2 separate regions of the Homo sapiens genome follow, and region 1 is linked to region 2. The links are contacts of gene promoters, found by promoter capture Hi-C in blood cells and fetal thymus (Javierre and others, 2016). All regions are on one chromosome and are shown on one strand. Each heading gives the region's core, a stretch centred on a gene start or on the middle of the fragment in contact. The rest is flanking DNA. Distances are from core to core; before and after follow the strand shown. Region 1 has its middle 7.7 kb from the start of OR4D2. Region 2 holds the start of MRPS23 (mitochondrial ribosomal protein S23).

Region 1 (6,947 bases), core at 3,971-6,470, 320 kb before region 2:
TGGCAGAATGAAAATGTCACATTCAAAAACATTCCCAGATCAGTCGTATAAATCTGTTGCTAGTGAATTTTTTTTTTTTTTGAGACAGAGTTTCGCTTTTGTTGCCCAGGCTGAAGTGCAATGGTGCCATCTCAGCTCACTGCAACCTCCACCTCCCGGGTTCAAGCGATTCTCCTGCCTCAGCCTCCCGAGTAGCTGGGATTACAGGCATGCGCCACCAAGCCCAGCTAATTTTTGTATTTTTATTAGAGATGAGGTTTCTCCATATTGATCAAGCTGGTCTCGAACTCCCGACCTCAGGTGATCCACCCACCTCAGCCTCCCAAAGTGCTGAGATTACAGGCGTGAGCCACCGCGCCTGGCCTGAATTGTGTTTTTTGTGTACATTTATTTGCTTTCGTGGTCCCAGAAGAGAGAAGAATGAGAAACTTTTACATAGCTTTGTGTTTGAACATACATACCATCACAAAAAGATTTTAAGTCAGCAGTAGAAGTCCTCAATATGTTTTTTATTTCTTTATCTTTCCCCATATTACTCAGGTTTAAGAAACACGTTGTAATCCATGTAACAAGGTGTTGCTACTCACTGAGGAACAAACAAAAAATTCTTGTTTTCTCAAGACTGCTCCCAACGGTGCCTTGTCACCCCTCTTTCCTGCTGGGTGACTCTCTCCCTTCACAGCAGCTCAGTCCAGTCCTATACACTTTTCATCACTTTTATTTCAATAGTCACCAGTTTCATTCCAGTTTTTAAGACTGTCCTATTTAGTGAAAATGCCCTTCTTACATTCGACTCCAAGTCCACCTTGTCCCTCAACTTGGGAGGCTGTGGCCCAGGCCTCCGAGGGTGGAGCGTGGTTGGTGGTGCAGGACTCTGCTCTCTAACACTTCTTCCTCCTTCTTTCCAGCACCTCTTGCCTGGTGTTGGTGTGGGGAGGAGGAAAAGAGAAAGCGATATCTCCTTCCCTCTGAGCTCTCACTGCAAAGCAGCCAGGCTCCAGGTCTTCATGGCTTTTCTGTCAGCTGTGGGGCCAGGCCTAACAGCCCATGGGCCCCACTTCCGAGTTCCTGGAGGGCTGTCCAGGGGCTCCCCCTGTATACTCCCTGTCATCAGAGTCTGGGCTCCAGCTCAAACTCCTCCTCCCCCTCAGCCTTCACCTCAGTGGTCACTCGCAGTCTCGCTGCTTGATTGACACCTGTTCAGTCAGAGGGCATGGAGCCCCTCTCCCCACTCCTCATGCTTCCCTCTCTCAGGAGGCCTCTGGGCTTCACCCATCCAATTCTGATTCTTTCCTTGCTTACTCAGATCCCCTCTGCAGCACACACACACAGCTCGTGAACGGCAGGGCGGTGGGAGCAAATCCACAAGGCAAGGAGGAGTATTTTATCTCTAACATTGCTCAAGCATGGTGATCATAAAAATCCATTCTTAATAATTGTTGTCTTTAAATTCACAGAAAAAGAAACCCCTATTGGCTGCACAGAATTTTACAGATGGTGCTGTAAAAATGGTTATGGATTAGAAATCGCCCTTGGGGTCTGGTTGGTAGAATAAAAAAAAAGTTTAGAGGATTTAAGTTTCCAATATAATATACAAACATTTCCCCACCTATTACATTGCCCAAGTTGAAAAATTTTTTTTTTAAAGAAATCAAACAAGTTGTCTCTGGTGCTGTGTGAGAGAGCTGTCCGTTGTGCTGAAGAACACAGCACAACGAAACTTGAAATCAGCAGTCTCAAACTGTGGCCCCCAGATAAGCAATATCAGCATCACCCAACAACGTGCTGGAAATGCATATTCTCGGGCTCTACCCAAGACCTATTAAATCAGAAGCTCTGCATTGGGTTTCCAAGTTTTAGCAAGCCCTCTCGGTTGATTCTGATGTACGCTCACACACGTGAACCAGTGTGCACTGCAACAGGTCCTTCCAAAATTTGTTTCTTGTGAGGATACTTTTGTCCTTTCTGATCTTGACCTGCTTATCCTACATTTCATAGATCTCTGTGATTTTCAATGTCCTTGGCAGACCTCTCTAATGGTAAGTGTTTTTGAGAGTCTTAGAAACTTCTTAACAAAGTTAAAATAATTAGCTGGGCATGGTGGTGTGCACCTGTAGCCCCAGCTATTCGAGAGGCTAAGGTGGGAGGATTACTTGAGTCCAGGAGGTCAAGGCTGCAGTAAGTCATGATTGCACCACTGTACTGCAGCCTGAGTGACAGAGTAAGATCCTGTTTCAAAAAAAAAAAAAAAAGTAAAGTTTGAAAACTCTTCCCATATATAGAGGTTCAAATCAGCATTTTATTGCCTTACTCTTAAATGTAGCTAACCAAAGATCACTGAGAGTTTAAGAAAGGTCTCCAGTACAAAATAATAAATAAATAAGAAGAAAACAGAAGTGACACAGAAAGCAAAAGAGAACTTAAAAAAACTTCAGCTTATGAAATTAGTATCATTTGAGAGAAGAAAGAAAATATAATATCCACAAAATAAGAATAGAATGGCATAAAAAGGAGAACATGCAAGAGTTCTTGAAAACTAAAATTTGATTTAAAAAATAAAAACTTTAATAAAAATGTTGGAAATCAGAGTTGGAGAAATCTCCTCTTAATGTAGAACAAAAATAGTGTGAATAAGGTGTCCATAGGATGTGGCCCAGCATGGGTTGTCAGAGCCTGGGTGTCTACTCCTGTGAGCTGCCCATTGTGGGTGTTAAAGCAAGGTGAAGAGGGTATCCCAGCAAGGGCTGACTCACTATGGGGAGTCAGAGCATGGGAGGGCTAAGAAATGCATCCACACAGAGGTGCAGTTGGACATCAGGTGTTGGAGCTCAAGCAAAATGAGGAGGAGCATGGAAAGTGTCCTGATGTGGGATGTTGGAGCATGTGTGGGGTAAGAAAAGTGGCTGGGAAGGGCGCTGGCCTGAAGCAGGATATCAGAGCCCAAGCGGAGTGAGGAAAGTATCTGGTGAAGGAATGGAAACAGATATGGAGTGACTAGGAAAGACTGGTTGCATAGAGAAGTGAATTACATAAATTATTATCTTAAATATGATGATGTCATAAAAATAGCAGTCTGGGAATCCGAGGGCTCATCTCTCCATAGAAAGGAAAAAAAAAAAATAAAAGCAGAAGTGATCAGAATCAACCTTGTTGGAATTCTGGAAAATTGTCAAAGAAAATAGTCAAATAGCAACTAAATGAACTTTGTTTCAAAAGGTGACTGAAACACAGTAGGAAAACTTTTAACTTATTGTTGTTCCACACTCCTCCCAGCTTGGTGGTCTTGAAGATGGCAATGTATGTTCCTGGTGTGAGTCCCTGGTTCCGGAAGGAGCAGAATGAACCTTGTTCCCTAGGATTGTATTGTCTGTTTTGAAATGTCTGGGGGTTCCTGAAGGACTGATGTGAGGAGCTTGCCTTTGTTTTACCTAACTCAGAATTCACTATGGGCAGAAAAGTGGCTACGTAAAAAGTATTCCTCAAAAACACTGAAAATCAAATGAGCACGCCTCTGCCACCTGGGGCAATCAAACACACACCAAAAGCTTGAGAGGAAAAGTTAGGAACAGAGATACTTTGGTGAATAAGAACTTTGGAAAGTTCCTGTATATACTATGAAATCTAGAATGCCACATTCTGCATATAAGGGCAGGATGAAAACACAGACTTGGGACAGTCCTAAGATATAAGTTCTGGCTAATCTTTAGGCCCAATGCAAGCAGAAAGTGAAGGCTAAGGCAGAGCTGTAAACATCCTTGTTAAGTGTTGAGGGAGTATCCAAACACAGAGCCAATCTGGAAAGACTGGGAGAGTATATTTTCTTTCTTTTTCATTTCTTTGTTGTATTAGTTCATTCTCATATTGCTATAAAGAAATATCTGAGACTAAGACTCGTAATTTATAAAGAAAAGAGGTTTAATTGGCTCATGATTGTGCAGGCTGTACAGGAAGCATAATGCTGGCATCTGTTTGGCTTCTGGGGAGGCCTCAGGAAACTTACAATAATGGTGGGAGGTGAAGTGGGAGCAGGCACTTCACATGGCTGGAGCAGGAGGAAGAGAGAGTAAGAGGGAGGCACCACACACTTTTAAATGACCAGATCTCATGAGAACTCACACACTATTGCAAGGTCAGTACCAAGGGAAGGATGGTGCTAAACTATTCGTGAGAAATTCATCCCCATGATCTAATCACCTCCCACCAGGCATCACCTCCAACACTGGGGATTATAATTCCACATGAGATTTCATGGGACACAGGTCCAAGCCATATCATTTGTCTACAGGCATTTAACAAAGTTACTGTAAAGCCATTAGATGACTATGAACTAAGGAAACAGATTTCAGAGGCCATATTTGACAAAAAAAAAAGTTTTAAAAGTCACTAAACAAACAACTGCAACTCACAGCAAGAAAAAACAACAAATAATAGGGAGCAGGAAGAAAATTATTTCCACTCCTACAACATTATAATATTTAAAATGTGCGGTTTTCACAAAATATTATGAGACATGCAAACAAACAAGAGAGTATGGCCCTTTCAAGGGAAGAAAAGAAATTAGCAGAAACTTCCTGAGAAAAAACAGACATTTGACTTAACTAGACAAAGACTTTAAAGCAACTTTCTTGAACATAGAGTAAACTATGGGTAAAGAATTAAAGGAAGAAGAATGTTTTACATAGAAAATATCAAAAAAGAGAGAGAAATTGATTTAAAATAAGAAATAGTCTGGAGCTGAAAAGTACAATAAAAGTAACTGAAATGAAAAGTTCACAGGACGGTTTCAATAGGAGCTTTCGAGTAGGTAGAAGAAAGAATCAGCTGGGCCTGGTGGCTTACACCTGTAATTCCAGCACCTTGGGAGGCCGAGGCGGGTTGATCACGAGGTCAGGAGTTCAAGACCAGCCTGGCCAACATGGTAAAACCCTGTCTCTACTAAATATACAAAAATTAGCTGGGTGTGGTGACACGCGCCTGTAGCCCCAGCTACTCAGGAGGCTGAGGCAGGAGAATTGCTTGAAACTGGAAGGCGGAGGTTGCAGTGAGCCAAGATCACACCATTGCACTCCAGTCTGGGCAACAGAGTGAGACTGTCTTAAAAAATAAAAATAAAATCAATGAATCTGAAGATAGGTTAGTTGAGTTCCAAGATTTCTGTTTGACATTTTGGAATCATTTCAGTCTCTTTGTTAAATTTCTAAATTGCTTTTCTGTGTTTTCTTGGAGATCAGTGAGTTTCCTTGAAACTCCTATTTTGAATTCTTGGTCAGAGAGCTCACTAATCACCATCTTGTTAGGATCAGTGACTGGATTTTTGCTTTTTCCTTTTGAGGAAGTCATAGTTCCCTGTTTGCTGTTGTTTCTTGTGGGTATGTATCCATCTTTCCAGTTTTCTCTGTACAGCTTGTTTTGGTTTTTATTGAATACATTTGCTTATTGAATCTTCACTGCTAGGTCACTGCCTCTATTCGACTCTAGGTGGTGCCTTAAGCCCAGGTTCACCTCAGGACTAGTAAATGGTTGAAGCACTTCCTGTCTCAAATCAAGGAGATCCCAAAGAGATTATCCTGGCAGTGTGGGAAGTCTGGCTAGGGGTTTGTGCCCAGGGGACCTGGGGAACATGCCTCCTACAGCATGGTGCTGCTGGACAGCAACTCTGAGTTGGTGTCTCCTTTGGCTGAGTTACAGAGCAGAATTTCTCTGCCTTTCTTCGGGGACATTTCTTCTTTCAGGCAGTCATGATGCTATCTGTGGATTAAGGCAAGAACAGTTCTCCTGCCAGGGACCCCAAGAAGGTAAGGAAGCTGGTGGGCCACCTCAATTTCAGTTTTTCCAGTGTAGAAACTGTAGTTGGGAGGAGATTTTTTGGCACTTGGTGCTGGACAGAATGGGGATGAGGGGTGTCCCAGATGTGGAAGTCTGATTCTCCTATCAGCTGCTTGGACTTTTTTCATCCCTCTGTGGCCCCAAGAACTGTCTCACTCTTATACTTGAGCTCTGGGTTGTTTCTGGTGTAGATCTCAGTGCTATATATTTGTTTTTGGTTCTGTGGAAGTCGGGGAGTGAATCCAATTTTCCTCTATGATGGCATTTCGGAATCAGAGGTCTAGAGATATTATAGGTCAATTGAAATCATCCAGTCTAAGGAGCAAAAAGAAGAATAAACGAAAATGAACATAGGCTCAGAAGCCTGTGAGACACCATCAAGGATACCAAGACACACACATAATGAGAATCCTGGAAGAAGAGGAGAGAAAGGCGCAGTAAAAATAGTTTAGGCAATAATGGTCACAACTCCAACATGGAGAAACCCCATCTCTACTGAAAATGCAAAACTTAGCTGGGTGTGGTGATGAGTGAACTCCGGCCTCGGCAGCAGAGTGAAACTTCGTCTCAAAAAAAGCACTCTCCAATAGCCAAAACCTGGAAACAACCCAAATAAACTTATTTTCACAGTGGAATATTCTACAGCAGAGCAAATGAATGAATTAGAGCCAAACATCAACATGTTATGTTAGAAACATAACATGGAGTGAAAAAAGCAAATCCCAGAATATTATGTACAGTACAATATCTTTATAAAACTCCAAAGTAGCAAAACAATATACTGTTTATGTAAAAAAAGTGATGAAACTATTTTATACAAGCAATGAAGTGATAAACATGAAATTCAACAGAGTGATTTCTTCTGGATAGGAATCAAGGTGAACACAATGGAGAGGACAATACAGGTGAAGGCAAGTTATTGGTAACTTCTGGTTCTTGAATCGAGTAGTGTATACATGAGCATTTATACATAATGACATAAGTTTCATAATGTGCATGCATTGCCCATGATCTTTTATTCAAAATTTGTATATTATATTAAAATGTAAATATAGAGAGAAAAAGCTTGAATACTCATAATAATTTCATATTTGAAAATAAAATACAATCATTTTTAAAAG
Region 2 (7,042 bases), core at 2,232-4,731:
TGTGAAGACGTGGGAGAAGAAAGCTGTCTCCAAGGCAAGGAGAAACTAGCCAAGTGCAGAATAAACTAAACTTGCAGACACCTTGATCTTGGACTTCTGGCCTCCAGAATAGGGAGAAAATAAATCTGTGTTTAAGCCACCCACTTTGTGTGCAAGTGGTGTTAGGGCAGGCCTAGCAAACTTCATACAATCAACAAGCTATTCAGCACATAACTTAATATTTATGTATTTACCTCTCTGTCTTCCCTACTGGACCGTTGGATTCTCTAAGACTCAGAATAGTCAGGTAGGTGTTTATATGCTTCTGGAACGAACGGATCATCTAACAAGAAAGTAAAACAGTAAGGCAATCTATGAAATATTATCAAAATGCTGCAGTCCAGGTGGCAATGGGTGGATGACACAGCACAACAGCAATCGTGTTGCTGTTACAGCCATCAGGCTTGTTGCTGCTCACAGGCACTCACTATGTCCCAGGTGCCGTGATTAGTGCTTTACATGAATGATCTCTTTTACTTTTGCAACAAGCCACGAAGATAGTTGACACTGCCATCCAGATTATTATTATTATTATTATTATTATTATTATTATTATTTGAGACAGGGTCTTGGCTCTGTTGACCAGGCTGGAGTGCAGTGGTGTGATCATGGCTCACTGCAGCCTTGAACTCCTGGGCTCAGGCCATCCTCCCACCTCAGTCCCCTGAGTAGCTGGGATTACAGGCATGCACCACCACACCTGGCTAATTTTGCCCAGGCTGGTTTTGATCTCCTGGCTTAAGCAATCCTCCCACACTGGCCTCCCAAAATGTTGGGATTACAAGCATGAGCCACTGAGCCCAGCTCCACATTTTAACAGTTGGAGAAACAGAGGCTCGAAAAGTTACATAACTTGCTCAGAGTGAAGCAATTAGTGGGCACGTCTACAATGAGACAGTGGGATTAATATGAGGCCGAGTGGTGTTGTAGGAACATGGCCTTTGGGAGTTTACAAGCACCACTTCCTTATCTGTAAGATTAGCAGGACATTACCTATGTCAGCAGGTGGTTGAACAACTGAATGAGACACTTGAGGTTCCTTGGTACCTCCCGCGGCACAGTGGTGCGTGGTGTAAGTGCCCCAGGCCCTCACAGCCTTGGGCGGCTGTGGTCCCCACTCAAGAAGACAGCCTCAAATGTCCATTCTGCCTGCCCCCTGCTGCCCGACAGCTTGCTCCTGTATTATGAATGAATGTTTCTTGGGTGTGTACTTCTTGTGTAGCCTCAGAAGGCTGTTATCCCCAAAGTACCCCCAAGTCTGCCCACCAATATTCTGCTCTCAGTCACAGAAGCAGGCTGGAAAGGGAAACTTCAAAGGCTTGGAAGAGGAAGGGACCACCCCAAGATTAGCGAGAACATTTCTGCCTTGCAGTTCTTCCCCTATTGAGGGTTTGCGTCTTTGGTTCCCCTCCTTGATCTTGGAATAAACCCTTTAACTCTTTAGCTGCAGTGACTGCACTAACCTACAGTAGCAGTTCCTGGTGGGAGAAGAGAAGTGTGCCTGTAATCTGGGCTGGCAGATAGTGCTTGCTGGCTGGGACAGAATTAGAAAGTTGTTATGAGGCCTGGGAAGACTATATTTAGCTGGGAGCATGTTTACTCTCCCCAGAGCAAGGTCTTTTAGACCTCCTGAGGGCTGGGATACTAGAGCCTTTACACCTGGCCTGGGGCCAGAGCTGTGCTCTCTCTTCTCTGTTCCAGAGGGTCTGGAGGCAGCAGTGAAATCCACCTCAGGTTAGCCCTGGGCCTCAAATCACTGGATCCCTGGCGTGCGTGTGTGTGTGTGTGTGTGTGTGTGTGTGTGTGTGTGTTGTGGGGGGGGCGGGTGGGGAGCGGCGTTCTGCTGGACTCTTGAGCCTACCAGCCTCGAGCTTTAGGCATAGCTTAGGCGGCATTGTGAGGCACTGGAAAGGGCCCTGGCTGCCCCACCCCCCCAAGGCTGGCTCTATCAGTTGCTTATCAGACAAGTTATGTAACTTCCTGAGGCCTTGCTTTCTCATCTATAATGAGGATGTTAATAGCTACCTTATGGGAAGGTATGTGGATTCAGTAAGATAACACACACAAGCAGTAACTACTCATCAAACAGTCCCGTCCTCCCCTTCACCAGCCTCAGAGTGGGAGGACTCTAGGATGACTTGACTAGGCTCCCAGGAGACATTGTGTGTGATTCAAAACATTCATTGGATTAAAAGTTCAAATATGAATACAATCTCTTTACAAGTCAAACTCTGAAGCATGTGTAAAGGAAGAAAAAATTCTCCCTTGCCTGCCTGCAGTTTCACTCCGAGATATCCAATGTTCACAGCCTTGGGTGTCCTTCTGCAGAATTTCTATCCTCAAACACAAACATATATAGAGGTGTTTCTTTTTCCTTTTTTTTTTCTAACACGTTGAGATTCCACTAAACATGTTTCTTTGCAACTTCGTTTTTCATTTAAACATAAGTCATGTACCTTAACCTTGGTAAATACATGTGGATCTAGCTCATTCATTTTAATAGCTGCATAGGGTTCCAAAGAAAGTATGAACAATAATTTTCCAGCTATTTCTCATCTGATGGATTTTTTTTCCCACTACAAACAATGCTGCAACGATGATCCTTGCACAAACATCCTCATGAATTGATGCTTTAATTTCTAAGGGGTTCTTTCCCCGAAATATGATTACTGGGTCAAAGGGTATGCTACACACAGTTTATATTTTTTTACAGTTTAACACTGAGAGATGACTTTCTCCAGATTTTTTCGTTTCCCTCTCGGCGTCTGTTTGTTCCGGACACTTTCACTTTTCGAGTTCCAAGGAGGAGGTAGCCCGCGACACCGGCCGCGGGAAACACGAGTTGCAGCCAGCATCCTAGTTAGCGTGGATGCAGGTGGCACTCCGGGGACGAGGGGCTTAGTGGGGAGCACTACACAGCCAGAGGCGGAGGCCCGAGATCTAGCACGACGCTGGGCAAGTGACGGCCCCTCCCCGGCCTTGGTTTTCTTCTGCGTAGTCTGTGACTCTAAACAACATTAGGCTCAGCCTGGGCCTAGAGCTGGTGACCTCAAATCTCGGCCTTTGTTGGCTCCCCTAGGACTGTAGGCTGCGCTTCACCCCTGCTCTGCCCCACTACTTCTCCTCCGCGCGGCCCCACCTTTTCAGAGGAGTTGGCTCAACAAGGCGAGAGAGAGTAAAGCAACCATCATGATGAATCCCTCCCACAGCTCGGTCATTTATTACTTCTGTCCGGCTTTGGCTCGCTCCTGCCCTTTTGGCTCGGCTATCGAGTGCTCCTGCCTGAACCTGGCAAGTAACCTCGGAGCGCGCCCGTTCGGCCTATCACTTGCTTCTGCCTGCGCCGCTCTCCCGCAGGGGCTGCGGTGAAAGCCCAGCGATCCTTGGCTCGGCCAGCAACTTATGCGCCCTTTACCTGGAGCAGCCGCTTCCGGTTCCGGTAGCAGCTAGTCACGCTCGGTACCAGGCGCAGATCATGGCAGGCAGCCGGCTGGAAACCGTAGGGAGCATCTTCTCTCGGTGTGTGCTCCCAGCCGTGGTGGGCTGAGGGTGCCTCCCCCAGGCTGGGGTTCTCAGCCGGTCACGCTCTTCCTTGGAGCGGACCTGAGCAGGGCGAGGCGTATTGCAGGGTGCGGGGGCTGAGCTGGGTGAGGCCCTCTCATGTTTTCTCCTGGCTCCGAATAGTTGTGCCTGAGGATGCCTCTCCTTGAATTTATGTGTCATGTTAAAGATTATTGCAGCTGCCTCTCCCCGAGTGGAGGTCTCTAGGAAGAGGAAGGGAGGAAGAGCCTGATGGGCCTTCCTTATCAGGTCATGCAAGACCGCTCTTTGCATTTTTCCGTGACCGAACGTGGGTGGGACGCACAAAAGAAGATAGAGGGATTTAACTCTCCTGAGCGTTGTTAAGTTTGGTTTGGGATGTGGACAGATCTTCTCTGTAGGTGGGGAGCAGTCCTTCCCCGTTCTGTGTTGCAGACCGCATAATACCTTTAATGTCCCAAACTGTGCTAGACTGATTCAGGGGCTTTGGCAGGCTACTGCAAGTGACCCAGTTTCGTTCTGTTCCCTCCCTAAGGACTCGGGACCTGGTTCGGGCCGGGGTGCTGAAGGAGAAGCCCCTGTGGTTTGACGTATATGACGCCTTTCCCCCGCTGAGGGAGCCCGTCTTCCAAAGGCCTCGAGTGCGATATGGCAAAGCCAAAGCTCCCATCCAAGACATCTGGTACCACGAGGATCGGATTAGAGCGTGAGTGCTCAGCCCTGTAGTGGACAGGAGGCAACAGAACTTCAGAAGGGAAGGTTTCGGTAGCAGTCTGGGAATTCAAACATGAAATTGAGTCAGGGGTTTGCCCTGTGGAGAAGGCTTATCTAGCCAAATTAGGGAGGCAGCACCCCTTCCTCATAGTGAAACTGAAGTTCTGAAAAGTGGAATCTGGAGCCCAGCAACCGAAAGATCATTGCAATTATAGCCGCATGTTTCTGGGCATCTGCTTTGGGCCAGGCACTGTACTAAGCTCTTTGCAAGCATTATCTCATTCTCTAAAGGCCTTACTCTAACTTGTAAGGAAGGCATTCTTGTTTCCATTTTATTCAAGGAGACTGCGAAGCTCAAGGAAATTAGCTAACTTCTTGTAATTACTAAATATATAGGAGGGTGGCAGATCTGGGAATCACATCTCTGACTCCAAGCTTATGGTGATCATTATGCCGGCCTTCTCCACGAGTGGAGATAGGAGGAACGTGGTCTGTGGATCTAGTAGTCCGGCTCTTTGAAGCCACTCAGATGAAAGGATGCTTGAAAGTCTAAGAGAGGCCGGGTGCGGTGGCTCACGCCTGTAATCCCAACACTTTGGGAGGCCAAGGCGGGCGGATCACCTGAAGTCAGGAGTTCGAGACCAGTCAGACCAACATGGTGAAACCCCGTCTCTACTAAAAATACAAAAATTAGCCGGGCATGGTGGTGGGTGCTTGTAGTCCCAGCTACTCGGAAGGCTGAGACAGGAGAATTGCTTGAACCTGGGAGGTGGAGGTTGCAGTGAGCCGAGATCCCACCACTGCACTCCAGCCTGGGCGACAGAGAGAGACAATCACTAGGAATTTGAAGGAAAATCATGTGTTCTTTATTTTTTTTTAGCATCCCTTTTCTCTTTTTTTTTCTTTTTCTTAAGCTCAGTGGCAAGAATACTTCCTCTTTTATTATAAAAGCAACACATGCTACTTGTAGAAAATTTAGATACACAAAGAAAGCATAAAAAGAAATCACAGGCTGGATGTGGTGGCTTGTGCCTGTAATCCTAGTGCTTTGGGAGGCATAAGGGAGGATAGCTTGTGCCCAGGAGTTTGAGACCACCCTGGGCAACATAGCAGGACTTGTCTCTACCAAAAAAAAAGTAGTTGTCTTAGTTTACACTCTGATTAGCAGTTTCTGAGAGTTCTTACTTTATCCTTGTCAGTATTGATAATGATTATTTAAGAATTTTTTTTTTCTGGGCCAGGCACGGTGGCCCACGCCTGTAATCCTGGCACTTTGGGAGGCTGAGGTGGGCAGATTGCCTGAGCTCAGGAGTTCGAGACCACCTTGGGCAATATGGTGAAACCCTGTCTTGACTAAAATACCAAAAATTAGCCGGGCTTGGTGGTGGGCACCTGTAGTCCCAGCTACTTTGGATGCTGAGGTGGGAGAATCGCTTGAAACTAGAAGGTGGAGGTTGCAGTGAGCTGAGAGTGCACCACTGCACTCCAGCCTGGGCAACAGAGGGAGACCCTGTCTCCAAAAAAAAAAAAAGTTTTGTTTTTTTCTGATCTAAGTATTTTTTTTTTTTTCGAGATGGAGTCTCACTCTGTCTCCCAGGCTGGAGTGCAGTGGCGCAATCTCGGCTCACTGCAAACTCTGCCTTCCGGGTTCATGCCATTCTCCTGCCTCAGCCTCCTGAGTAGCTGGGACTACAGGCGCCCACCACCACAGCTGGCTAATTTTTTGTATTTTTAGTAGAGACAGGGTTTCACCGTGTTAGCCAGGATGGTCTCAATCTCCTGACCTCGTGATCCGCCTGCCTCGGCCTCCCAAAGTGCTGGGATTACAGGCGTGAGCCACCGCGCCCGGCCTCTTTATTCTCTTTTTTTCCAAAACTTAAATAGTCACAGAAAATGTGCTCCTAATGGTTGCCTAGGAACATTCTTTTTTTTTTTTTTTGAGATGGAGTCTCGCTCTGCCACCCAGGCTGGAGTGCAGTGGTGTAATTTCAGCCCCATGCAACCTCCACCTCCCGGGTTCAAGCTGTTCTCCTGCCTCAGCCTCTTGAGTAGCTGGGATTACAGGCTCACGCCACCATGCCTGGCTAATTTGTATTTTTAGTAGAGATGGGGTTTCACCATGTTGGTCAGGCTGGTCTCAAACTCCTGACCTCGTGATCCGCCCGCCTTGCCTCCCAAAGTGTTGGGATTACAGGTGTGAGCCACCGTGCCCGGCCTCCTAGCAACATTCTTAAAAATATCTTTAAAGTTCTCTATTTTTTCTTTTTTTTATTTTTTATTTTTAATTTATTTTTATTATTTTTTATTTTTTATAGTATTTATTGATCATTCTTGGGTGTTTCTCGGAGAGGGGGATTTGGCAGGGTCATAGGACAATAGTGGAGGGAAGGTCAGCAGATAAACATGTGAACAAGGGTGTCTGGTTTTCCTAGGCAGAGGTCCCTGCGTTCTTCCGCAGTGTTTGTGTTCCTGGGTACTTGAGATTAGGGAGTGGTGATGACTCTTAACGAGCATGCTGCCTTCAAGCATCTGTTTAACAAAGCACATCTTGCACCGCCCTTAATCCATTTAACCCTGAGTGGACACAGCACATGTTTCAGAGAGCAGGGGGTTGGGGGTAAGGTTATAGATTAACAGCATCCCAAGGCAGAAGAATTTTTCTTAGTACAGAACAAAATGGAGTCTCCCATGTCTACCTCTTTCCACACAGACACAGTAACAATCTGATCTCTCTTTCTTTTCCCCACAT

Evidence for each region. Contacts are between HindIII fragments. The CHiCAGO score rates a contact against its expected background, and 5 or more counts as called.
Region 1: a fragment that was not itself captured here is called in contact with the fragment with the promoter of MRPS23 in region 2 in 1 of 17 cell types (total CD8 T cells); the score reaches 5.4 in total CD8 T cells.

What each region holds. Positions count from the first base shown.
Region 1 is chr17:58,171,190-58,178,136 of GRCh38, reverse strand. No RefSeq gene overlaps it. Among named protein-coding and RNA genes, the nearest start is that of OR4D2, 7.7 kb to the right of the region's middle. RefSeq lists a silencer at 1,642-1,842. The HindIII fragment of the contact is 3,346 bases long and covers 3,548-6,893 here.
Region 2 is chr17:57,846,483-57,853,524 of GRCh38, reverse strand. It overlaps MRPS23 (mitochondrial ribosomal protein S23), which reads left to right and starts at 3,481. Exons shown (of 5, transcript NM_016070.4): 1 at 3,481-3,558; 2 at 4,115-4,285. The coding sequence starts at 3,515. RefSeq lists enhancers at 2,986-3,495, 3,171-3,500, 6,686-7,042. The HindIII fragment of the contact is 6,704 bases long and covers 1-4,730 here.